Linked DNA regions of Homo sapiens: regions 2, 3, 4, 5 and 6 are each linked to region 1. The links are contacts of gene promoters, found by promoter capture Hi-C in human tissues and cell types (Jung and others, 2019). All regions are on one chromosome and are shown on one strand. Each heading gives the region's core, a stretch centred on a gene start or on the middle of the fragment in contact. The rest is flanking DNA. Distances are from core to core; before and after follow the strand shown. Region 1 holds the start of BSDC1 (BSD domain containing 1). Region 2 overlaps S100PBP (S100P binding protein). Region 3 has its middle 19 kb from the start of PTP4A2. Region 4 overlaps YARS1 (tyrosyl-tRNA synthetase 1). Region 5 overlaps SYNC (syncoilin, intermediate filament protein). Region 6 overlaps RBBP4 (RB binding protein 4, chromatin remodeling factor).

Region 1 (4,328 bases), core at 539-3,038:
TCCATCTTAAAAAATAATAATAAATAAAATCATGAGACTTTATGAGAATATCTGGGGAATGACTATAAACATCAAAAAGGAGGAGGACACCAAGGGCTGAGCCTTCTCCCAGGGAATATCCCATTCCAGCAACAAGAAGGCGGTGAGAAAACAGCAAAGAATACTGAGATGCCAATGAACGGGGAAGAAAGTCAAGAGGGCATGATGTCCTGGAAGCCAAATGAAGAAAGTGGTCAACTGTGTCAAATAAGATGCGGATGTAAAACAAGAACTGAAAAGTGGCCATTCCTCTTGGCGACCTTAAGAAAGTTATGTCAGGCTGGGTGCAGTGGTTCATGCCTGTAATCCCAGCACTTTGGGAGGCTGAGGAGGGCAGATCACCTGAAGTCAGGAGTTCGAGACAAGCCTGGCCAACATAGTGAAACCCCATCTCTACTAAACATACAAAAATTAGTCGGGCATGGTGGTGCACAACTGTAATCCCAGATACTCGGGAGGCTGAGGCAGGAGAATCGCTTGAACCCGGGAGGCAGAGGTTGCAGCGAGCTGAGATTGCACCACTACACTCCAGCCCGGGCAACAGAGCAAGACTCTGACTCAAAATAAATAAATAAATAAAATAGATGTTTCCGTCTTCCACAGGGAGGACCAAAAATAAATAAATAAATAAAATAGATGTGTCCGTCTTCCACAGGGAGGACGTGGGATGGTGGCGGAGCTGGCTGCAGCAGAGCTACAAATAAATATAAAATAAATAAAATTAAATAAAATTAAATAAATAAAAGAAAGTTATTTCAAAGGATTGTCTGAGAGGCAAAAACCTAACTGCAGTGAGTTCAAGAGAGAATGGGAGGAGAGGGGAGTTGCAGACTGTGAGTAGGCAACGCTTTTGCTGTAAAGGGGAGTAGGGAAACGGTGAGGGATATAGAGAGGGCTGGTTTTTGTTTGCCTTTGAGATGGGAGAAACAGCAGTACGGATGATGACAAGGATAAATGCAGTCATCAGAGGGAAAAGAGATGAAGGGGGGATTACTAGATCTATGTCCTTAAGCAAACAAGAGGCGATGGGATCTACCGCACACGTGGAGGGGCTGACCTTAATTAAAGTCCAAAGTATGTGGGCTGTGGAATCTCCCTTCCAATCGCAGTAGAACTCAATCCAGGCGGTCTCCGGATTTCTCCAGACCACCTCCACCTGGCGTTGTTCTGAGCTGGGCCACCGAAAGTTGAGATTACTGAATGTGTGTGTCTCCCATTAACCCGTAAGCCCTCCAAAGGCTGCATCTAAGTCGCCTCTGAATTATTCACATTCCTCCAAACTCTGGGCCACAGCCCCGCAATATGGGCTTATTGAATTAGCCCAAAGAGACACAAAGCAGCCTCTACGCAGCTGGTTTCACAAAGGGGGGCGGTCCTAACCCTGCGCTCTGGGATCCTGACGTTCGAGCTATCTCTCCTCCTCCCCTCTGCTCCCAGCTCTCCGCAGTCCAGCTTGTCGGCTGATCATCGTCCATAGAGGCCACCGTACCCGACGTTTGCGGACAGTGACAAAGAGTCAAGCTTGGTGGAGCCTGAGGACAGGACTGAATGACGATTGAACTGAGAGTTCAGGGGCGGAGTTTGAGGGCGAACTCGGGACAGAGACTGGATAGAGTTCAGGGAGGCGGGACCTAATGATGGCGCAGGGAGGGGATTGGGCTGAGGGCGGTGCCGGCGCGAGGATTGGGCCGAGCGCCTCGGGGGCGGTCCTTGAGGGGGCGGTGCCGTGTCGGAAGTCAAAGGTCAGTAAATAGTGGTGATGTCATGCAGGCAAGATGGCGGAAGGGTGAGCTTGTCGTTTTGCTCCTAGGCGTTGGGGCCTGAATTCTCCCAGGGTTGGGGTGCTGGGCGAGAGTCCCGGTGGGGAACGTGAGATCAGCGGGGGCGTGGACTGATCTGAAAGGGCAGAGTGGAGTCGCATTGTGAGGGGGTGGGCAAGCGGTCTGCGAAGCCTCGGCCCGCAGGGTACATCTGAGCGGGGAACAAACCGGATCCTTGGGCGGGCAGGAATCGCACCGCGGTGCTGCCAGATGTGTCTGTCTTCCACAGGGAGGACGTGGGATGGTGGCGGAGCTGGCTGCAGCAGAGCTACCAAGCAGTCAAAGAGAAGGTAAGCCGGGCCCGTGCCCTTCTTCCCTCAGCAGGGCCCTGCGCCGCCTCAATGCAACCTGGTCCAACCAGCCCCGCCCAACTTTTGCGGGCGCTAAGTCTCAAGGATGAGGCTGACCTGGGCCTTTCTTTTAGCCTCTACCGGTCCACGGGAAGACAGACCTCGACGCAAACCAGTGTGATACTAGCCACAGTGAAATAAAGATGGTTTTAAAGGCTGGAGTTAACGAACGTTTTGTAGGAATCCATAGGAAGGAGCAATTTATTCCAGCTCAGGAAATTCAGTTTCTTCGTGAAAGAGAGAGCATTTGATACAGGTCTTGAAGGAAAAGATTCTAGCAGTAAAAAAACTTACTCGTATAGTCATTCAAATATTAGAGTATATGCGACAACCAGCACTCTGATAGGTCTTGAGGATACAGACTTCAGCCAAACAGATGTAATCCTGGGCCTTACAAAGCTCACAGTCTAGTGGAGAGACAGCCATTAACCGAGTAGCCAAACAAATAGTTGTTTAGTTACCGTTGTGGTAAGTTCTGTGAAAGGAAAGTACAGGGGCACCTTGTCTGTTCTGGTTAGTCAGTAACTCACCAGGGAAGGCCCCTGTGGAGAAGGAACCTCATCAAGGGCAACCCTGCCTAGACAGGATGAAAAGCAAGAACCCAAGCCAGAGATGAGCATGAGCCATACACACTGGTGCCTGATGAGTTCTAAGTAGGGGCTATGCAACGGGCAGTAGAGAGAGAGAGATTAATCACCAGAGAGTGGAAGGCCTTCTTGCTGAACAATCTCTGTGGGATGAGTGATATTTGGCTGTGCCAGTGGGTAATTTGCCAATGTGTATTCCTGTTTCATTTCATGCTTATTTGTCAAAATCAGCCCAACTGAATTGTGGGAAAAGTTGATTACTATTTACCTCAAGCAATTGGGATGAGTCCTGCTTCAGGGCCAACTCCAGGAAGCTTCTGACCTCACCTAAATAAGTCCTCTACTCTGGGAGTATTTTTGTTTTGTTTTGAGACAGAGTCTCACTCTGTCACCTAGGCTGGAGTGCACAGGTGCGGTCTCAGCTCGCTGCAACCTCTGCCTCCCAGATTGAAGTGATTCTTGTGCCTCAGCCTCCCGAGTAGCTGGGATTACAGGCATGTGCCACTACTCCTGGCTAATTTTTGTATTTTTAGTAGAGACAGGGTTTCACCATGTTGGCCAGACTGGTCTCGAACTCCTCACCTCAGGTGAGCCACCTGCCTCAGCTTCCCAAAGTGCTGGGATTATAGGCGTGAGCCACCACACCCAGACATCTGGGAGCGTTTTTATTCCTCCCTTATCCTGGGTACTCCTGGACAGCCTCTCAGCAATAGCCCAGCAAATCTGAGAATGCCCTGAGCTGTTTATGTTGTTGATGAGGACTGAGAGGCTTGCACCCTAACATTTGATAGAAGAGACCCGATAGTAGCATATTTCCTGTTGGGTAATTTCCTGGCAGGAAAGTCTGACATTCATTCAGCAGATGTTGCATGAGGGCCTCCTGTGTTTGTCTCAAGGTTGGTCTTATCATAACTTATGAAAAATAGATAGTTGGCCAACCTTCCGTCTTCATTCTTGGAATTCCCAGTTAAAAGCTGGGGTGGGGGTGGAGGTGGGAGTTGTTTATGCCTTTTTGGAAAGAAAAGACGTAATTTCCCTTTTTTTACTTTCTTACTCTTATATGTACTTGGGCAAGTGTTTTTTGTTTTTTGTTTGTTTGTTTTTGAGACCAAGTCTGGCTCTGTTACCAGGCTGGAGTGCAGTGGCTCAGTCTCAGCTCTGCAACTTCCGCCTCCTGAGTTCAAGTGATTCTCCTGCCTCGGCCTCCTGAGTAGCTGGGATTACAGGCATGTGCCACCACGCCCAGCTAATTTTTCTATTTTCAATAGAGACAGGGTTTCACCATGTTGGCCAGGCTGGTCTCAAACTCCTGACCTCAGGTGATCCGCCTGCCTCGGCCTCCCAAAGTGCTAGGATTACAGGTGTGAGCCACCACGCCTGGCCTCTTGGGCAAGTTTTTAACCTCTCTAGGCCTCAGTTCCTCATCTATAAAATGGGAATACTAACAATACCTACTTGATGAGATTGTGGTGATGGTTAAATGTTAATATATGTAAAACACTAAGAACAGTACCTAGCATACAGTAAGTGCT
Region 2 (4,328 bases), core at 1,123-3,622, 460 kb before region 1:
TGAGGTTAGGTCGTGGTGTCCTTATCTGCCAAAAACAGAATTTAGAAGATTCCCAGACTCTACCTACTTCCTACAATAGGAGCCAAGGTGCATCCTCCTAGGAGCACGAGGGAAACCTCAGGGTCTGAGGGAAGGAAGACAGACTGGTGAGTGTTTCTATGAGGCAAGAGTCCTTTTCTCCTCCTACTCTTGTCCCCTAGTTTTTCAGAATGGGCCTTCTCAAGAATGCATTTTTAAGAGTTTTGGTTCAACCCTTTACAAAAATGTGCAAAATCTCACCAACCCATTAACATGAGCTTTAGATTTCTGACTCTCTTTAAACCTATTTGATGGTTACTGGAATGTGCATTTAAGTAGCCTCCAAGAACAAATTGCTTCTATAAATGGGACACCCTGCTCACCCTCCTCCCTTGCCCAGCTCCATCAAGCTCCATCCATACAAAATATTACCAAACCTTCAAATGTGACTTGAAGTTAAGTTGAAGGAAAACTGTACACAAATAGTTCCTAACCAGGTGCAGTGGCTCACGCCTATAACCCCAACACTTTGGGAGGCCAAGGTGGGGCAGATCACTTGAGGCCAGGAGTTCAAGACCAGCCTGGCCAACATGGTGAAACCCTGTCTCTACTAAAAATACAAAAATTAACTAGGTGTGTTGGCGCACACCTGTAATCCCAGCTACTCAGGAGGCTGAGACATGAAAATCACTTGAACCCAGGAGGTAGAGGTTGCAGTGAGCCAAGATCGCGCCATTGCACTCCAGCCTGGGCAAGAGAGTGAGACGCTGTCTCAAAACAAATAGTTCCTTAGTGATATATTTCAGGACTATCACTTAGACTGCTTTAAAGGTTATCCAAAATATTATATTCCACCCCCTTTCAATGGGTGCTGGGAAGGGCCAGATTTTCCGTCTATGGCATGTCCCAGTTGTCACAGGGGGAGGACAGGTGGGGAGGAAGGACAAGGCAGGAGCCTATTCATTTAGGAATTCCACCACTGACCAGCTGATACTTCCTGTGACAAGTGGAATTTTTTTTTTTTTTTCCCTGACAGGTGCTCTGGCATACAAAGCAAGCATACACTAAAATCAGCTTAGGAATAATTGTTTTCTCTTAGAAAAGCAGAACATTACTAAGAGAAGCAGGGAACTCCACTTTCTAGCTTTAGGTGGTTGGGTTTTTTCTTCCTATAAAAGCTCAAAATAGGCTAATTAGAGAATGACCCCCTTCCTCTTGGAGAAGGTCCATCTCTCCTTTTCCTCTTCACTTTTCCGTAATGTAAAATGGACAAAAGATCCTATCTACACCTGATAGGAACAAAACAGATATGCATAGGTTAAGGAGAGTGCCTCAGATTGAGACAAGAATGTCAAGTTGCTGAGTACTTAGCAAACTTATATTGAGTCTTTTGCATGGACTCAATATTATATTTTGTCTAGAATTTATAGACAAAACTTATAGCACAGCAGGCCAGATAGCATGGCTAAACATGTTGCTACTTGTTTTCTCAGCATGAACTCAGATTTTTAAAGCACTGGCTAATATAGGTGACAAGTTATTATTGCCTTCCCTTTTTTCCTTGCTTCTGGGGGTAAGTCTAAGAAGCTTTGGTTCACGAAAGGGATCTAAGGAACACTGTGTCTCCCACATCTACCCACGCTTATCCAACCTTCACCCAGTTTTTAGAAGCCGCAGTTTCTGGAGAAACTGGGTTATGAACAACCATCAATTCTGTACCACTGATTCTGGTTTCTTACATCCCCTTCAAAGAGAGAATGCTCTTGGATAGCATGGCTTCTTCCACAATCAATGCTAGCTCTGGAGAAGCAGAGATAGGGAGGCCAATCACACAGCCATGGGAAGGAATAAAAGGCAATGCCTGCCTGATCACGGCTGAGCCATCTTCCCCCTCTGCAAAAACTGAGGCATAATGATATTTCAGGCTCTCCCTATGTCAGGCTCCTGACATGCACCATATGTAGCTGCAAATCCCAATCAATTTCAACATTTCTTAACTGCTAGAACACCTTTCTCAACACTGTAATTTACCTTCAAAAGAATAGGGAGCAAGCACCCTCGCCTTTCCAGTACCACATTCTACTAACTGCCGCCCCCCTCCCCACCCCACTAACCTACCTACGCAAAGGAAGAAGGCAAATAACCCTCCATCGAAGCCTACGACAGACCGCCACAGTACATATGTCACTGACAAAGAACTTTTATTTCTTTTTAATGACATTAAACACAACTGCTACAAGGGAAAAAACATGATAAAGAGGAGGCACCAAACTTCAGTTTCATAATTGAAACTGACAACGCCAGTAAATCAGGGCCTGCATTCGAAACTACAGGTTATTTCAGGCTCCTTACTTGTAAGTAAACAATGTAAACAGCATATTTTTACTCTGCTTTGTCAAGACCCCCATGGTGGGAATGTCGTCATGGATGAAGAAAGCAGTTAAATGCACCTAACACTTGCTTAAAAAATAATACAGCAAGAATTCCAACTGCAATATTAGACTTAGAGGCCAATACCAAATATAAGAGATATGCAGCTTTGAAAAGAGATGAAAACTCCAGATTCTACCCAGTACCATCTTTAAGGCGAACATGCCAGATAATGAGTTTTCTTTGGCTTTGTTTTTTCTTCTTAAAGAATACCATGTTAACCACTAGAGAACAGCTCTCTCCTCCCCCAGTCCAACAGATTTAATTAAGCTGCTAAAGCTTTGGAAAAACAGAATTATTTGAGCTAAGAGGAAATGTGATTGTCACATTTTCTAGTTAACCTGTCACTCATTTGATTTGGCAAAGGCAGTGCTCCTATTACACATTCAGTCTTAAAACCCCATGTACCAGGAGGGCACGAGTCTTAGATTTTTGCCTAGGCAAAATCCTGTCCCTTCACTCCTTGGGTTTTCTGTAGGGAACTAGACTACAGTTCCCTACTGTAGCTGCAATGCTAGCTATTCCAACTACATTTAATTTTAACTATGCTATGGTCCCAAAGGTGGATGTTTGGCATGTCTCACTCCATCAACCTAATTTAGGGCAGCCTGGAGAAGTGACCGATGTAGTAAATGCCAAGTAGGCTAACTAAAATAATAGATTTCAACTACTGCCTTTGAATAGAACTTCTCCTTTGCATTTTGGCCCCAGAATTTAAAACAAATGTTCAAGGAAAAGCAAATCCTTGACTGGATAAAAACAGTAAACACTTAGGGACATTCACCTAAATTTATTGTTGGCTTAAATGACCAAGCGTTCCCCACGTCCGTTTCTAAAGTGGGGTAGGATGTTTAGAATGCATTACTCACACAGAAAGATGGGATTGATGAAATCACAAAACTAAACACAGGCTATAGCAACTATGAACAGCCTTCACAGAGAATGAACAATAGCACAAATGCCAGACTGCAACACTTCCTAAAATGATGTCTATAGCTATCTGTAAAGAGAGAATAACCGGCCAGGTGCAGTGGCTCATGCCTGTAATCCCAGCACTTTAGGAGGCCGAGGTGGGCAGATCACCTGAGGTCAGGAGTTCAAGACCAGCCTGACCAACATGGAGAAATCCTGTCTCTACTAAAAAATATGAAATTAGCCAGGCATGGTGGCGCATGCCTGTAATCACAGCTACTCAGGAGGCTAAGACAGGAGAATCCCTTGAACCCAGGAGGCGGAGGTTGTGGTGAGTGGAGATACGCCATTGCACTCCAGCCTGGGCAACAACAGCGAAACTCCGTCTCAAAAAAAAAAGAGAGAATAACCAACTCCTAAGACATCCATTAAGACAGACGCACAGTCTGTCAACTTTGGTTAGAATACCAAACCTTAAGATCAGGTAATGCTTTTGTGCATAGGCTGTCACAACTATATTACATCCACGTTAGCATCCATGTGAAACTAGGTATCAGGGGCTTGACCAAATGAGATGGTAACATCCAGGGCCTAAAGACACCTCTTGTTAACTAATATGGAGAAAAAAGAGTGCCTTTCCACACTCTCCCACAGAATGGAGGCTCCCTAACTAACACTCAAATTTGGGGTTCAGCAAATGAAACTAAATATCAACTGACACCACAATAGCACTAGCCTGCCCTAGAGTCAAGACTCTGGGTGGGCAGCTCTTCAATAAAGACAGCAAGGAGGCCATCCTGAAGAGGTATATCCACGTCTAACAGGTTACAAGAATACTGCCACTAGAATCCTAAAGAGCAGAGTGGTCACTGGGGGGTAAAAAGAAAAAGGAAAATCCTTGAAGAAAGGCAAAGGAGACAACCAGTCTCAAGACCACAAGGTATTATAAGTCTTCTGTCAAAGTAAGA
Region 3 (4,328 bases), core at 535-3,034, 440 kb after region 1:
AGAGTGTAGGGGGACCTCTTCAGCAAGGCCTATGGGCAACTGTGGGGTCTGGGGAAAGGGAGTCTAGATGGGCAGATACTTGAAAGGAGTTTAGTACCAAGGGGGAAGAGATTGAGGCTGAGAGCCCCCTTATGAGACATGTAATAATAGGCCTGTGTGGTGGCTCACACCTGTTATCCCAGCACTTTGGGAGGCTGAGGTAGGAGAATTGCTGAAGCCCAGGAGATCAAGACCAGCTTGGGCAATGGGGTGAAACCCCATCTCTACAAAAAATACAAAAATTAGCCAGGCATAGGGGCACGTGCCTGTAGTCCCAGCCGGTTGGTTGGCTGAGGTGGGAGAATCTGAGCCTGAGGTGGGAGAATCATCTGAGCCTGGGAAGTCAAGGCTGCAGTGAGCCATGATCGTGCCACTGCACTCCAGCCTGGGCGTTGGGAGTGAGACCCTGTCTCAAGAAAAACAAAAAACAGGCCGGATGCAGTGGCTCACACCTCTAATCCCAGCACTCAAGGAGGTCGAGGTGGGCAGATCACCTGAGGTCGGGAGTTCTAGACTAGCCTGGCCAGCATGGCAAAACCTCGTCTCTACTAAAAATACAAAAATTAGCTGGGTGTGGTGGCGCACATCTGTAATTCCAGCTACTCGGGTGGCTGAGATACAAGAATGGCTTGAACCCAGGAGGCAGAGCTTGCAGTGAGGCGAGATCACACCAGTGCACTCCAGCCTGGGCAACAGAGCAAGACTCTGTCTCAAAAAAAAAAAAAAAAAAAAAAGAACAACCACCACCACCAAAAAATGTATCAATCCAGGCTTCAGGTCATGATGAGGGCCTAAATTGAAGCAGAAACAGTGGAGACAGGCCAGGTTTGGTGGCTCACGCCTGTAATCCCAGCACTTTGGGAAACCGAGGCAGGAGGCTCACTTGAGCCCAGGAGTTCAAGACCAGCCTGGGCAACATGGCGAAAACCCATCTTTATAAAAAACACAAAAATTAGCCAGGAATGGTGGCAAGTACCTGTAGTCCCAGCTACTTGGAAGGCTGGGGTGGGAGGATCACCTGAGCCCAGGAGGCTGAGGCTGCAGTGAGCTGTGATTGTGCCACTGCACTCCAGCCTGAGTGACAGAGCAAGACGAAAGAAAGAAAGAAGGAAGGAAGGAAGGAAGGAAGGAGAAGGGAAGCGAAGGGAAGAAAGAAAGAAAGGAAGGGAAGGGAAGAAAGAAAGAAAGAAAAAAGAAAGAAAGAAAGAAAAGAAAGAAAAAGAGAAACAGTGGAGACAGAGGGGAGAGGGGAGGTTTATTTATAAGATGTTAAGAACATGGTGATTGGTGGGCTGGGCTGGGCAGAAGCAAGAGTGACATTTGAGCTTCTGGCTTGGGGAACAGGGTAAAAGGTGGTGTCATTCATCAAGATTGGGAACCTAGGAGGAGCAGGTTTGGGGGAAGATATAGAGTTCAGTTTTGGCCTCGTTGAGCTTGCTGTATGTGGCAGCGTGCAAGTGGAGCTGCTTGACAGGTGGGTGGCTCTTGGGGGGAAGATCTGTGGTTGAGATACAGTCTGGGAATTCATCAGCAAAGAAGTAGAGGTTGAAGACACAGGCACAGCTTAAAAGTGGGAGGGAGCGTGAGGGGTAGAAAGGGAAGAGGGCTAAGAGCAGAACTATGAGAAGTGACATTTAAGGGCTGGAATGTTGCCAGCAACCAAGGAAGAGAGAAGGAGGAGAAGAACCGGGGTCTGTGGCCTCACAGAAGCTCAGGAAGGAGAGTTAAGAAAGAAAGTGGTCAGGGTGAGGCATGGTGGCTCATGCCTGCAATCCCAGCACTTTGGGAGGCTGAGGTAGGAGGATCACTTGAGGCCAGGAGATTGAGACCAGCCTGGCAACATAGGGAGACCCCGTTTCTATTTAAAAAAATTAAATACAAGCCCGGGCGCGGTGGCTCATGCCTGTAATCCCAGCACTTTGGGAGGCCGAGGTGGGCAGATCATCTGAGGTCAGGACTTTGAGACCAGCCTGACCAACATGGAGAAACCCCGTCTCTACTAAAAATACAAACTTAGCTGGGTGTGGCGGCACATGCCTGTAGTCCCAGCTACTTGGGAGGCTGAGGCAGGAGAATCACTTGAACCCGGGAGGTGGAGGTTGCAGTGAGCAGAGATCGCGCCATTGCACTCCAGCCTGGGCAACAAGAATGAAACAACATCTCAAAAAAAAAAAAATAAACAAATAAGTATGAAAGAAAAGAAGCCAGGCACGGTGGCTCACACCTGTAATCCCAACACTTTGGGAGGCCGAGGTGGGTGGATCACTTGAGGTCAGGAGTTTGAGACCAGCCTGGTCAACATGGTGCAACATCGTCTCTACTAAAAGTACAAAAATTAGCCGGCGTGGTGGTGGGCGCCTGTAATTTTAGCTACCCAGGAGGCTGAGACAGGAGAATTGCTTGAACCCGGGAGGTGGAGGTTGCCGCAAGCTGTGATCTCGCCACTGTACTCCAGCCTGGGCGACAGAGTGAGACTCCCTCTCAAAAAAACAAAACAGGCTGGGCACGGTGGCTCACGCCTATAATCCCAGCACTTTGGGAGGCTGAGGTGGGTGGATCACCTGAGGTCAGGAGTTCGAGACCAGCCTGTCCAGCATGGTGAAACCCTGTCTCTACTAAAAATACAAAAATTAGCCGGGTGTGGTGGCACATGCGCCTGTAATCCCAGCTACTCAGGAGGCTGAGGCAGGAGAATCACTTGAACCTGGGAGGCGGATGTTGCAGTGAGCCGAGATCACGCCAGTACACTCCAGCCTGGACAACAAGAGTGAAACTCCGTCTCAGAAAAAAAAAAAAAGAAAGAAAGAAAGTGGTCGACAGCGCTGACTGTTTAGAAGAGGCAAGTAGGAAAGGCCTGGAAAAAGTCTTTGGATTTGGTGATGAAAAGATCATCACTGAGTGTGATGACAGACAGTTCAGTGGCTGGGCAGAAGTCAAATGACAGGGACTGAGAAATGAGTGGACAGTGAGAATGGGAGTCAGGGTTTCGACTCTCCTGAGGCCTGGGATACGGAGGGAAGGAGAGAGTTTGTCCAAAGGCAAAAAGTTTGTGTCAAACAAGATTCCAGAGAAAGGCCTGGCTGCTGTTGAGAGACCCAGGAGTAGCTAAGGCCTTATTCTGGGTTCAGGAGGGCCTGGGAAGATGCTGTCTTGTTTGTGAACCTGAAGTGAAAGCTCACCAGAGGGGCCAGCAGAGGGAACTGCCCTGCGAGAAGGCCCCAGCTTTGCGGCTGGGTTTTCCCCACTCTGCATCTAGTTTCCTTGATCCACTGATTATCTTGGGCTGGTTTTGCTGAATGACTCAGGAGCTTGAGCAAGCTTTGCTACTCAGTTTCACAGCTCTGGGGGAGGGGAAGTTGGATTCCTTTCTGATAGCTGGGAAACAGTCATTAGATATTGAAGGAAGAAGGACAATTGGGCCCCAGCTTCAGAGAGAGAGAGAAAAAAATGGCTCTCCAAGCCTTTATTTATTTATTTATTTATTTATTTATTTATGAGATGGAGTTTCGCTCTTGTTGCCCAGGCTGGAGTACAATGGCGCAATCTCGGCTCACGGCAATCGCTGCCTCCTGGGTTCAAGCGATTCTCCTGCCTCAGCCTCCTAAATAGCTGGGATTACAGGCATGTGCCACCATACCTGGCTAATTTTGTATTTTTAGTAGAGACAGGGTTTCTCCATGTTGGTCAGGCTGGTCTCGAACTCTTGACCTCAGGCGATCTGCCCACCTCGGCCTCCCAAAGTGCTGGGATTACAGGCATGAGCCACCATGCCCGGCTCCTTTATTCTTAATAAAAATAACAATATCTAACAGTTATTGAGTGCTTTTACCATTGCCAGGCAATGTTCTATGGGCCTCCCGGCTTTATCTCTGGGGTTGACTACTTGTTATTATCCTTGTTTGACGTAGGGAGTTGAGAGTTAGGTGAAATGACTTGCCTGGGGTATCCAGCCAGTCACTGGAAGAGCTAAGACTTGACTGCCAAAAGCCCATGTCCTTAACCACTGTGCAACACCGCACCTCTTAGGACCTCTCTAGGTGACCCAGTAAGGCCTGTGGGATTGAGGAGGGGCCTCCCAAATGAAGATCCTGGGCAAATGGCTGGAAAACAAAATCCTTAAAAAGAAGCTTCTCCCCTGCTAGGATTTCTGCTGAGAAGGAAGGGACAAGATCCCCTGAGCTTGTTCTGAGGCTCCTTATCACCTGAGACCCCCTTCTGTGATTCCTTTCCCCCACTTCAGCTTAGATAAAGGGCCTATTCACAGCCTCCCTGAGCTGTGTCTGGAAGCT
Region 4 (4,328 bases), core at 1,556-4,055, 400 kb before region 1:
TGGGATTACAAGCATGAGCCACTGCACCTGGCCTATTATTTCATTGTATCTGCTTGATTAACTTTTTAGTTGGACCTCCTTTTATTATTAAAGCAGGGATTTGGCCCATACCTTGTTTTTGTATGACTCATGAGCTAAGAATGGTTTTTACATTGTTTAAGGATTGTGAAAAAAGATGAAGAATAAGCAGTAAAGAGCATATGTGGCCCATAAAGCCTAAAATCTTTTTTTTTTTTTTTTGAGAGGGAGTCTCGCTTTGTCACCCATGCTGGAGTGCAGTGGCACAATCTTGGCTCACTGCAACCTCTGCCTCTTGGGTTCCAGCAATTCTCCTGCCTCAGCCTCCCAAGTAGCTGGGACTACAGGCGCGTGCCACCACACCCAGCTAATTTTTGTATTTTTAGTAGAGACAGGGTTTCACCATGTTGGCCAGGAATGGTCTTGATCTCTTGACCTCATGATCTGCCCGCCTTGGCCTCCCATAGTGCTAGGATTACAGACGTGAGCCACTGCACCCAGCCCCTAAAATCTTTATTAACTGGCCCTTTCTAAAACAGTTTGCCCATCCCTGCCCTAGAGATTACAACACATATCCTTGCAATTTATTACAGTTTAAGTTAGATATTTTTACCACTGCCCAACAATGCAAGAAACAGTTTTACTACATTTTTCCTCCAACAACAGTTGGAGTAAAACTCATTTTTTGTTTGTTTGTTTTTTGTTTTTTGAGATGGAGTCTTGCTCTGTCGCCCAGGCTGGAGTGCAATAGCGCCATCTCGGCTCACTGCAACCTCCACCTCCCGGGTTCACGCCATTCTCCTGCCTCAGCTTCCCAAGTAGCTGGGACTACAGGCGCCCGCCACCACACCCTGCTAATTTTTTGTATTTTTAATAGAGACGGGGTTTCACCGTGTTAGCCAAGGTGGTCTCGGTCTCCTGACCTCATGATCCTCCGACCTTGGCCTCCCAGAGTGCTGAGATTACAAGCGTGAGCCACCGCGCCTGGCAAAACTCATCTTTTTTTTTTTTTTTTTTTTTTTTTTGAGACAGAGTCTTGCTCTGTCACCAGGCTGGAGTGCAGTGGCGTGATCTTGGCTCACTGCAACCTCCGCCTCCCGGGTTCAAGCCATTCTCCTGCCTCAGCCTTCCGAGTAGCTGGGATTACAGGCTCCCAACCATGTCCAGCTAATTTTTGTATTTTTAGTAGAGATGGGGTTTCACCATGTTGGCCAGGTTGGTCTCCATCTCCTGACCTCGTAACCCACCTGCCTCGGCCTCCCAAAGTGCTGGGATTACAGGCATGAGTCACCGCACCCAGCCTCAAAACTCATTTTTGACATAAATTTTAAATCCCTTGGCTGGGCGCAATGGGTCACTCCTGTAATCCCAGCACTTTGGGAGGCCAAGACAGGCAGATCACCTGAGGTCAGAAGCTTGAGACCAGCCTGGCCAACATGATGAAACCCCGTCTCTAGTAAAAATACAAAAATTAGCCAGACGCAGTGGTGTGCACCTATAATCCCAGCTATTCAAGAGGCTGACACAGGAGAATTGTTTGAGCCTGGGAGGCAGAGATTGCAGTAAACTGAGATCGCACCATTGCACTCCAGGCTGGGCAACAGAGAGAGACCTTGTCTCAAAAATAAAATAAAATAAATCTTAAAGACTTTACTACCATTTTTTTTTTAATTTTTCTGAGACTGAGTCTCCCTCTATCACCCAGGCTGAAGGGCAGCGGCATGATCTCGGCTCACTGCAACATCCGTCTCCCTGGTTCAAGGGATTCTCGTGCCCCAGCCTACTGAGTAGCTGGGATTACAGGTGCCCGCCACCACGCCCGGCTAATTTTTGTATTTTTAGTAGAGATGGGGTTTCACCATGTTGGCCAGGCTGGTCTTGAACTCCTGACCTCAAGCTGTCCACCCACCTTGGCCTCCCAAAGTTCTGGGATTACAGGCGTAAGCCACTGCGCCCAGCCTGTAATTGTTTTTTAAGTCACTTTTCATCTATATCTACCCCTACTTCCCCTTTCTGATACTCTTGATTCTTGTCTGCAGTTCTTTGCTTCTGTGTGAGTTCATTTTCCTTCAACCTAAAGAGCCCCCACTTAGTATGTGTTTGTAGTGCAGTTCTTTCAGTAATGAGTTCTTTCAGCTTTCTTTTATCTGAAAACATCTTTCAATTTCTTTCACTGGGTATGAAATTGGAAGTTTGCAATTATTTTTCTTTTGGCACTTTTAAAGGATCATTGCATTGCCTTCTGGCTTCCATAGTTTCGACTGAAAAGTCACCTCTAAGTTTATTGTTTCTCCTTTACAGATAATATGTCTTTTCTCTGCTTTTAAGATTTTTTCTTGTTTCTGATTTTCAGCAATTTTACTATGATGTTTTTGTTGTTGTTTTCTTTGAGACAGGGTCTTGCTTGCATTGCCCAGGCTGGAGTGATTGATCTTGGCTCACTGCAGCCTTGACTTCCTGGGCTCAGATGATCCTCCCACCTCAGCCTCCCAAGTAGCTGGGACTATGGGCATGTGCCACCACACCTGGCTAATTTTTGTATTTTTTTTTGGAGATGGAATTTCACCATGTTGGCCAAGCTAGTCTCAAACTCCTGAGCTCAAACGCTTTGCCTGCCTTGGCCTCCCAAATTGCTAGGATTACAGGTGTGAACTGCTGTGCCTGACCAGCTATGATGTTTTCAGCTATAGTTTTCTTTGTATTTATCCTGCTTAGATTTTGCTGAGCTTCTTGAATCAGTGGATTTGTTTTCATCAAATTTGGGAAATTGTCTGCCATAATTTCCTCAAATACTGCTTCTCTCTTATTCTCTTTCTCCTCTAGGGACTTTATAAAACTCATGTCTCATATTCTGTTCTGCTGTTTTCCTTTCTTTGTTCCCTCTGTGCTTTACTTTGGATATGTTCTATTGAACTTTCTTCAAGTTTATCAATCGTGTCTTCTGTTAAATCCAGTATTGTATTGTGACATTTTAGAACTTCCATTTGATTCTTTTTATAGATTCCAATTGTCTTTTACAATTCTCTTTCATCCATTTTGTCTGCCTTTTCTTATTTCCTTTTTGGTTTGTTTTTCCTGCCTATTCTGCCTATGTACTCTTATTTTCTTTTATTTATTTATTTATTTATTTTTATTTTTATTTTTTTTTGAGATGGAGTCTCGCTTTGTCACCCAGGCTAGAGTGCAGTGGCGCAATCTCAGCTCACTGCAAGCTCCGCCTCCTGGGTTCATGCCATTCTCCTGCCTCAGCCTCCCGAGTAACTGGGACTACAGGCACCCACCACCACGCCCAGCTAATTTTTTATATTTTTAGTAGAGACGGGGTTTCACCGTGTTAGCCAGGATGGTCTCGATCTCCTGACGCCTGCCTCGGCCTCCCAAAGTGCTGGGATTACAGGCATGAGCCACCATGCCCTGCTTATTTTCTTTAACCTACCAATCACAGTTATTTTGGCATCATGGTCTATTTATTGCAATATCTGGATTGTTTCTGAATCTGCTTCTATTGGCTATTTTAACTGTCAGCCACTTTTCTCTGCTTCCCATTTCTAGTATTTTTTTGTATGTGTGTATCAAAGGGATTATAGATGCATTGTAGACCCTCCGGATTGTGTTTGTAGGATGCTATGTTTTCTGTAGATTGCTAAATTACTGACTTATCACCTGGGTTCTGTCAGGGGTTGGTTTTAGGCTTTGTTAGAACGTCTACTTCAGCTTAGCCTTTACTCCTGTGGTGTGGTCCTTGTTCCTAGAGCATGGCCTTTCTAGAGACTCAAACTGAAATATCATGGTGTTCACAAAGCCTTCTCTACTTTGATTGGAGCTAAACTTCCATCTCTGTCTCCCCAATACTGTGCAGCCTCCAAAATCTCTGCCCAGGTCTCCAGCCTCCCAGAACCTGTTCTCTGCCAGACTTCCTGGTATCTCACTATGTGCATACACAGCTATGAGTCAGCCAAGAAATCAGTGGGGAATTTTGACATAGGCTGAGGAACCCATCCCAATCCCTAGCCTCCTCCAGCCCTGAACTCCAATAGCTGTTTCCTCTGCTTAGTCTTTCGCTGTCTGCTTGGTCTCTTTTTATCAGCACCTGGTTTGCAAAGAAATACCCTCAGTGAGAAAGCCCAAGGCAAGTGTGGTCACCTTACTTCCCTTCGCTCAAGATTTGCTGCCCTGTTGGGTTTTGTTTTGTTTTTTGTTTGTTTTGTTTTTGTTTTTGTTTTTTGAGATGGAGTCTCGCTCTTGTCGCCCAGGCTGGAGTGCAATGGCACGATCTTGGCTCACTGCAACCTCCGCCTCCCGGGTTCAAG
Region 5 (4,328 bases), core at 791-3,290, 300 kb before region 1:
TTTTAGTAGAGATGGGGTTTCACCATGTTGCCCAGGGTGGTCTCAAACTCCTGAGCTTAGGCAGTCCACCCGCCTCAGCCTCCCAGTTATTTTTACAGAGTCTCGCTCTGTCACACAGGCTGGAGTGCAGTGGAGTGCAGTGGCATGATCTCAGCTCACTGCAACCTCTGCCTCCTGGGTTCAAGCAATCCTCCTGCCTCAGTCTCCCAAGTTGCTGGGATTGCAGACCTGTGCCACCATGCCCAGCTAATTTGGGTATTTTAGTAGAGATGGGGTTTCACCATGTTGGTCAGGCTGGTCTCGAACACCTGACCTCAGGTGATCCACCGGCCTCAGCCTCCCAGTGTTGGGATTACAGGCGTAAGCCACCACACCCAGAAGTAATACTGAATGTTTTTAAACTCTTCATATTCCCCTTACCCTATTTTTTAAAAAATTGGTTCACAGTCTAGTGAAAAGTCATTTATTTAGCATCAATACTATCCTTAACAGCCAATACTCAGACAGACATTACATTAATAGTTGTATCTCAGAGAAGAAAGTAATAGGTGATTTATGAGAGGTGCAGGTAAAAGGGCTGTGGGATAGATGATGATGATGATGATGATTATTATTTTTTGAGACGGAGTCTGTCACTCTTGCCCAGGCTGGAGTGCAGTGGCGCTCAGCTCACTGCAAGCTCTGCCTCCCGGGTTCGCGCCATTGTCCTGCCTCAGCCTCCCGAGTAGCTGGGATTGCAGGCGCCCGCCACCGCACCAGGCTAATTTTTTGCATTTTTAATAGAGACGGGGTTTCACCGTGTTAGCCAGGATGGTCTCCATCTCCTGATCTTGTGATCCGCCCGCCTCGCCTCTCAAAGTGCTGGGATTACAGGCATGAGCCACTGCGCCCGGCCGGGATAGATTATTTTTAGGCGCTGGTTAAATCAGAGAACTCTTCATGAAAAAAGAGGTGGAATTTGAGCTAGGTATGAAAGCATAGGGAGAATCTAGACCAGTGCTGCCCAACAGAAATATAATGCAAGTCACATAAATAATTACAAATTTTCTAATAGCCACATTAAAATAGGCAAAAATTCAGCTGAGCTAAGCCTGAGGGGAGCAGGGGAGAAAAGATATAGGTAAAATTAATTTAAATATATTTTATCTAACTCAACATATCTGAAATATAATTAGTAACTTGGCTGCAGGTGACAAGCTTGAGTTTTGGACTTTATTCAGTAGTCTGCTGCATCATTAAAGGGATTTAATCAGGGAAGTAACATGATTGCCTTGCTACTTTTTTTTTTTTTTCTGAGATGGAGTCTCCCTCTGTCACCCATGCTGGAGTGCAGTGGCACGATCTCGCCTTGCTGCAACCTCCACTTCCCAGGTTCAAGCAATTTTCCTGCCTCAGCCTCCCAAGTAGCTGGGATTACAGGCGCCTAACACCATGGACGTGGCTAATTTTTTTTTAGTCGGAGTCTCTTCTATTGCCTAGGCTGGAGTGCAATAGCGTGATCTCGGCTCATTGCAACCTCTACCTCCCGGGTTCAAGCAGTTCTCCTGCCTCAGCCTCCCGAGTAGCTGGGACTACAGGTGCACAGTGCCACGCCTGGCAAATTTTTTTTGTTGTTTTTTTTTGTTTTTTGAGAAGGAGTCTCGCTCTGTCACCCAGGCTGGAGTGCAGTGGCATGATCTGGGCTCACTGCAACCTCTGCCTCCTGGGTTCAAGCGATTTTCCTGCCTCAGCCTCCCGAGTAGCTGGGACTACAGGTGCATGCCACCATAGCTGGCTAATTTTTTCTATTTTTATTAGAGACAGTGTTTCACTATGTTAGCCAGGATGGTCTTGATCTCCTGACCTCATGATCCACCTGCCTCGGCCTCCCAAAGTACTGGGATTATAGGTGTGAGCCACTGAGCCCGGCCAATTGTTTGTATAGTAGGGACGGGGTTTCACCGTATTGCCCAGGATGGTCTTGAACTCCTGAGCTCAGGCAGTCTGCCTGCCTCGGCCTCCCAAAGTGCTGGGATTACAGGCATGAGTCACCACGCCCGGCCCTAATTTTCGTGTTTTTGGTAGAGATGAAGTTTTACCATGTTAGCCAGCTGGTCTTGAACTCCTGACCTCAGGTGATCTGCCTGGCTCGGCCTCCCAAAGTGCTGGGATTACAGGCTTGAGCCACTGCCTGCCTCTCTACTTTTTTTTTTTTTTTTCTTTGGAGATGGAGTCTTGCTCTGTCACTCAGGCTAGAGTGCAGTGGCATGATCTTGGCTCACCGAAATCTCCGCCTCCCGGGTCAAGTGATTCTCCTGCCTCAGCCTCCCAAGTAGCTGGGATTACAGGTGCCCGCCACCAGGCCTCGCTAATTTTTGTATTTTTAGTAGAGATGGGGCTTCACCATCTTGGCCAGGTTGGTCTCCAACTCCTGACCTCGTGATCCACCCGTCTCGGCCTCCCAATGTGCTGGGATTACAAGAAGTACTGGTGGCAGGATATAAAGTGGGCTAGAGATGCAGAGCAATGGAGAATAATTAGAAAGCTACTCTAAGGAAGAGGTTAAGATGGTTTCAGATTTGACGATTTGTGCATCTTCCCAAGGATTGTTTTCCAAAGATAATCTTATGACACAAAGTTTTAAAAAGAATATTCAGAAGTCTATCTAATCTCTATCAAATGAATCTTTCTCTATTGAGAGGAAGTCTTGGTCTTCCTGCCTCAGCCTCCCGAGTTGCTGAGATTACAGGTGTGAGCCACTTTATCTGGCCTGATACACTCTTGGTAGTATAATAGCTTCTCTTGTTGCTATACCATCATTAAAGTAGGAAGCAAGGTCTGAGGTCCCTAATTTTTCTTTCTGAAATGGCTTCCTAAACTGTTTGCTAAAGTTCTATTTCATCAACTTACTTTTTTTTTTTTTTTTTTGTGACGGTGTCTCACTCTGTTGCTAGGCTGGAGTGCAGTGGCACAATCTTGGCTCACTGCAACCTCTGCCTCCCGGGTTCAAGCGATTCTCCTGCCTCAGCCTCTCAAGTAGCTGGGACTACAGGCTCACGCCACCACGCCCAGCTAATTTTTGTATTTTTAGTAGAGATGGGGTTTCACCACGTTGGCCAGGATGGTTTTGATCTCCTGACCTTGTGATCTGCCCGCCTCGGCTTCCCAAAGTGCTGGGATTACAGGCATGAGCCACCACGCCCGGCCCATCAGCTTACTTCCTAAGGGTGTCCCTTTAATCCTTAGGCTGCACTCCACTCTTAACGTTGCCTCTATCATCACCTTCATCAATTCAACAGTTTCTAAGTGCCTAATTACTGTGGGCCAGGCAGTGAGCTATGTGCTGGCAATAGCAATTAGAAATAGTATGTGTGGCCGGGCGCAGTGGATCACAAGGTCAGGAGTTCAAGACCAGCCTGGCCAAGATGGTGAAACCCTGTCTCTGCTAGAACTACAAAAAAATTAGCCAGGCATGGTGGTAGGCACCTGTAATCCCAGCTACTCAGGAGGCTGAGGCAGAATAGCTTGAACCTGGGCAGCAGAGGTTGCAGTGAGCTGAGATTGTGCCACTGCAATCCAGCCTGGGTGACAGTGACTCACCTCAAAAAAAAAAAAAAAAAAAAAAAAAAAAAGGCCAGGCGAGGTGCCTCACGCCTGTAATCCCAGCACTTTGGGAGGCCGAGGCGGGCGGATCACGTCAAAAGATCGAGACCATCCTGGCCAACATGGTGAAACCCTCATCTCTACTAAAAAATACAAAAATTAGCTGGGCGTGGTGGCATGTGCCTGTGTTCCCAGCTTCTCGGGAGGATGAGGCAGGAGAATTGCTTGAACCCGGGAGGCAGAGGTTGCAGTGAGCCGAGACTGCGCCACTGCACTCCAGCCTGGCAACAGAGCAAGACTCCGTCTCAGAAAAGAAAAAAAAAAGTGTGTGTGTGTTGCGGGGTGGGGGTAATGCTCCTGCCCTCAAAGAGTTTGTACTCCAGAGGCCGGGTGCAGTGGCCCATGCCTGTGATCCCAGCACTTTGGGAGGCAGAGGCGAGTGGATCATGAGGTCAGGAGATCGAGACCATCCTGGCTAACACGGTGAAACCCTGTCTCGCTAAAAATACAAAAAATTAGCCGGGCGTGGTGGTGCATGCCTGTAATCCCAGCTACTCGGGGGCTGAGGCAGAATTGCCTGAACCCGCAAGGTGGAGGTTGAGATCGCGCCACTGCACTCCAGCCTGGGCGACAAAGACTCCGCCTTAAAAAAAGTTTGTACTCCAGAAGGAAGCATAACAGACAAAATGAATGTATTTCGTAAAATCTAAGCACTGTTGATTTTAACATGCATCCTGATCAGAGAT
Region 6 (4,328 bases), core at 1,094-3,593, 270 kb before region 1:
TCTTCTACTACTGCCGTATGCCCTGTAAAGATGGTCTTCGCATCTACCACTTTTCCCTCCTTTGGAACGGCACTGATGTCCCACAGGCAGATGGTCTTAAATGTAAAATTAACCATTATATAAAAGGAAGATTCTCACCTCCCCACACACCCCAAAAAAGAAACCAACTGGTAACTAGCCCAGATTTGCTTCAAAATGGGAAGGATACACACATGGTCATCTGAAGCACTAAGTAAGTGCCCACTGAGATTTGGGTTCCAAGAAAGCCCATAGCCTTCCTTCTGATGTCCACGGAGACGCAAGTCTGGGTTGCACTCTCCAGAAGGATCTGCAAAGTGACAGACACATCAAGACTACCCAGTCCACTGGCTCTCTGGGCCTACTGAGCATAATGGAATTTTGGTCAAGATGTCTAAAGCTCTTAACATTTATAAATGATATAGGAACCGTTATGATCAAATAGATAATGCTTAAACAGCACCAGTATTTTGTTCTATGTAAAAAAGCATTATTTTTTCATGGAGGCAAAATGAAGAAAAATATACACATATCAATACAAATCACAAGATGTTAAATTACACAGAGTAACATGCAATTAAACTCACAGTGAGTGGAACCATGTATTTCTATAGTGACTCATTTGTATTTGAATAGAAAAGGGCACATACCTGGTTTAGAAGGATGTTTTGTATAGTCAAAAACAAGAACATCACTGGAAGGAGTCTTTGTTGCGATGATACAAGGGTTCTGGGGCATATAACGGGCCCTGTTTACTTCTCCTTCATGGTTGATCTTGATTTCTATTTCAATTTTTCCACTAACTGAACCAAAACCTCCAAATTCTGTGAATAAATTAATTGCAAATGAGGACAAAACAAGAGCTACTCTAGAGGTTACCCAGAGTATAAGAACACAGGAAAGGATTTTTTTTCCTTAGCAACAAACTGGCATAATACTAGATGTAATCTATACATTTGCTAGCACTATAAAGTGCTTTCCTACCCCCGTGACTCCAGGTAGTTAAATAACTAATAAGAAATACAGTCAGCTCTCCATATCAGTGGGTTCTTTATCCATGAATTCAACTAGCCATTAATTGAAAATATTCAGAAAAACATTGCATATGTATTGAACATGTACAGATTTCCCCCTCATCATTATCCCCGAACAATATAGTCTATTTATATAACATTTACATTATATTAGGTATTATAGGTAATCTAGAGACATTTTAAAGTATATGAGAAGATCTGCATAGGTTATGTGTAAACATTATGCCATGCTGTATCAGAGACTTCAGCATCTGTGAATTTTGGTATCCAAAGGAGGTCTTGGAAACAATTCCCCACGGATTCTGAGGGATGGCTGTATTATATTACTATCTGAAATTAAGGAAAACTAGAATTCTACTGATGTAGGGTCCAGCCCTACGGGGCTTAGCGGGTGTTCTCCCCGTGTGCGGAGATGAGAGATCATAAGAAATAAAGACACAAGACAAAAGAGATAAAGAGAAAACACCTGAGCCTGGGGGACCACTACCACCAAGACGCAGAGACCGGCAGTGGCCCCAAATGGCTGGGTGCGCTGATATTTATTGCATACAAGACAAGGGGGCGAGGTAAGGAGGATGAGTCGTCCAAGTGATTGATAAGGTCAAGCAAGTCACATGATCATGGGACAGGGGCCCTTCCCTTTCAGGCAGCTGAAGCAGAGAGGTAAGGCAGCATACGTCAGCGTTTTCTTCTATGCACTTATCAGAAGGATCAAAGACTTTAAGACTTTCACTATTTTTTCTACTGCTATCCTCTAGCAACTTCAAAGAGGAATCAGGAGTACGGGAGGAACATGAAAGTGGACAAGGAGCATGACCACTGAAGCACAGCACCACAAGGAGGGGTTTAGGCCTCCGGATGACTGTGGGCAGGCCTGGATAATATCCAATCTCCCACAAGAAGCTGGTTGGTGGAGCAGAGTGTTCCCTGACTCCAAGGGAAGGGAGGCTCCCTTTCACAGTCTGCTAAGTAATGGGTACCTTCCCAGGCAATGGTGTTACCGCTTGCCAAGGAGCCCTCAAGTGGCCCTTATGCGGGCGTGACAGAGGGCTCACCTCTTGCCTTCTAGGTCACTTCTCACAATGTCCCTTCAGCACCTCATCCTATACCTGCCGGTTATTCCTTGGTTATATTAGTAATACAACAAAGAGTAATATTAAAAGTTGATGATTAATAATGTTTATACTAATGATTGATAATGTCCATGATCATCTCTATATCTACTTTGTATTTTAACTATTCTTATTCTAACTATTTTCTTTATTATACTGAAACAGTTTGTGCCTTCAGTCTCTTGCCTCGGCACCTGGGTAATCCTTCGCCCACATACTTCAAAAACAGATCTTAATAAAGTTTTCAGCCAGGCGCAGTGGCTCACGCCTGTAATCCCAGCACTTTGGGAGGCTGAAGCGGGCAGATCACCTGAGGTCAGGAGTTCGAGACCAGCCTGACCGATATGGTAAAACCCCGTCTCTACTAAAAATACAAAAATTAGCTGGGCGTCGTGGCAGGCGCCTGTAGTCCCCAGCTACTGGGGAGGCTGAGACAGAATTGCTTGAACCTGGGAGGCGGAGGTTGCAGTGAGCCGAGATCGTGCCACTGCACTCCAGCCTGGGTCACAGAGCAAGACTCCGTCTCAAAAAAAAAAAAAATAAAGTTTTCAAATTTCAAAGTGTAAATAAGTATGCTGAATAAATAAAACCAATGCTACTACTATAATGAATATTAAGTACACAGTGTGCTAAACACTAAAGTGCCCTTCTTGCATTGCTTGTATGAAGCTCTAGCTTGGGATGAATGTTCTGAAATACCATCATGCCGTTTATCTTCTCCTTACAGTGTTTCTTTTATTTCAGTGAGGAAAAACAGAGCCACAGCAGCCAGTTCCATTTTGCTACACCCACTTACACATGCCAACAAAAGTCCCTGGTTGAAATAAACCAGGTAGGCAACAACTAGATGAAAACATTTTTTATTCACACATGACTACTATGTGCACTTAGAGAGTTCTCTCAAGTACCATTATAGTATATATAACAATATAATGTGTGATTATGTAAATCTTGGCAAAGCAATATATAAATAAAGGTAGTTAATGATCAAAGAATAATAGAAGGCAGCATGGTACGGTTGCAAAAGTTCCAAAGTAAGAGTCAGACCCAGGCCCCTAAGTGGCTCTGTCACTTACTTAGTTTGGTGATTCAGGGAAGGCCTTCAGTTTCTCTGAGCATCAAATACCTTATCCACAAAGCAAAGAAGTTGTGAGAGTAACTTAAAAATAAATAAAAATATTCTGTCAATTGCATTGCTATATAGTGCTTTTTTTTTTTTTTTTTAAAGACAGGGTCTTGCTCTGTCACCCAGACTGGAGTGTAATGGCACGATCTCGGCTCACTGCAACCTCTGCCTCCTGGGTTCAAGCGATTCTCCTGCCTCAGCCCCCTGAGTAGCTGGGACTGCAGCCATGTGCCATGACGCCCAGCTAATTTTTGCATTTTTAGTAGAGACGGGGTTTCATCATGTTGGCCAGACTGGTCTTGAACTCCTGACATCAGATAATCTACCCGCTTCAGCCTCCCAAAGTGCTGGGATTACAGGAGAGAGCCACTGGGCCGGGCCTAGTGTTATTCTTTGAAGGACAAACATCTTTTCAGAAAGCAAAGATATACATGGGTGGTATGGCTGGCGTATTAGATAACTTTCAACTTCAAAATAACTTTTGAAAAGCAAAATGTTTCACACAGGCTAAAAACCTAAAAATAAAAATTCAAGATAGATTCTAAAGGAGAAAAAATCCCTAATTTTTTCCATAACTCCAGCCCACAAGCATCTACAATCTATGAAAAAACAAGGCATATATGGTACGTACCTCAAGAAACTTCAGTCTAAGTACAGGCATAGCTCGTTTTATTGTGCGTCACACATAAGTTTTTTTCCCCAATTGAAGGTTACAGCAACCCTGCACTAAGTCTATTAGTGGCATTTTCCCAACATGTGTTCAGTTGGTGCCTCTGTGTCTGCATTATTATTATTATTTTTTTTAGCAATGAAGTATTTTCAAATTAAGGTATGTACATTGTTTTTTAGACATAATGCTATTGCACGTTTAGGAGACTATAGTATAGTGTAAACATACAAAAAATTTGTGTGGTTTGCTTTATATATTTGCTTTACTGCAGTGATTGGGAACTGAACCCCCATCATATCTCTGAGATATGCACATATACAACTGCAAAGGCCAATGACCACCACCCCCAAAAAAGTGGCTGGGCACGG

What was found. Contacts are between HindIII fragments. The study calls those that stand out against the background at their distance.
Region 2: a fragment that was not itself captured here is called in contact with the fragment with the promoter of BSDC1 in region 1 in 1 of the 25 tissues and cell types used here (pancreas).
Region 3: a contact is called between a fragment that was not itself captured here and the fragment with the promoter of BSDC1 in region 1, in 1 of the 25 tissues and cell types used here (hippocampus).
Region 4: a fragment that was not itself captured here is called in contact with the fragment with the promoter of BSDC1 in region 1 in 1 of the 25 tissues and cell types used here (H1 embryonic stem cells).
Region 5: a fragment that was not itself captured here is called in contact with the fragment with the promoter of BSDC1 in region 1 in 4 of the 25 tissues and cell types used here (heart right ventricle, hippocampus, mesendoderm cells and 1 more).
Region 6: a fragment that was not itself captured here is called in contact with the fragment with the promoter of BSDC1 in region 1 in 1 of the 25 tissues and cell types used here (aorta).

The regions. Positions count from the first base shown.
Region 1 is chr1:32,391,901-32,396,228 of GRCh38, reverse strand. It overlaps BSDC1 (BSD domain containing 1), which reads left to right and starts at 1,788. Exons shown (of 11, transcript NM_018045.8): 1 at 1,788-1,825; 2 at 2,089-2,149. The coding sequence starts at 1,815. RefSeq lists enhancers at 1-655, 1,403-1,482, 1,354-2,049, 1,773-2,062, 2,050-2,747. The HindIII fragment of the contact is 8,966 bases long and covers 1-2,335 here.
Region 2 is chr1:32,856,750-32,861,077 of GRCh38, reverse strand. S100PBP (S100P binding protein) reads right to left here. Exons shown (of 7, transcript NM_022753.4): 7 at 2,203-4,328. Among named protein-coding and RNA genes, the nearest start is that of FNDC5, 12 kb to the left of the region's middle. The HindIII fragment of the contact is 3,770 bases long and covers 488-4,257 here.
Region 3 is chr1:31,955,146-31,959,473 of GRCh38, reverse strand. No RefSeq gene overlaps it. Among named protein-coding and RNA genes, the nearest start is that of PTP4A2, 19 kb to the right of the region's middle. RefSeq lists enhancers at 2,894-3,453, 3,041-3,648, 2,878-3,655, 3,656-4,328. The HindIII fragment of the contact is 3,956 bases long and covers 1-3,762 here.
Region 4 is chr1:32,791,718-32,796,045 of GRCh38, reverse strand. The region is part of intron 5 of YARS1 (tyrosyl-tRNA synthetase 1); the gene reads left to right. Among named protein-coding and RNA genes, the nearest start is that of YARS1, 23 kb to the left of the region's middle. The HindIII fragment of the contact is 7,246 bases long and covers 1-4,328 here.
Region 5 is chr1:32,688,519-32,692,846 of GRCh38, reverse strand. The region is part of intron 2 of SYNC (syncoilin, intermediate filament protein); the gene reads left to right. Among named protein-coding and RNA genes, the nearest start is that of SYNC, 12 kb to the left of the region's middle. RefSeq lists an enhancer at 3,505-4,005. The HindIII fragment of the contact is 7,163 bases long and covers 1-4,328 here.
Region 6 is chr1:32,664,739-32,669,066 of GRCh38, reverse strand. It overlaps RBBP4 (RB binding protein 4, chromatin remodeling factor), which reads right to left. Exons shown (of 12, transcript NM_005610.3): 4 at 669-842; 5 at 213-328; 6 at 1-95. Among named protein-coding and RNA genes, the nearest start is that of RBBP4, 16 kb to the right of the region's middle. The HindIII fragment of the contact is 8,987 bases long and covers 1-4,328 here.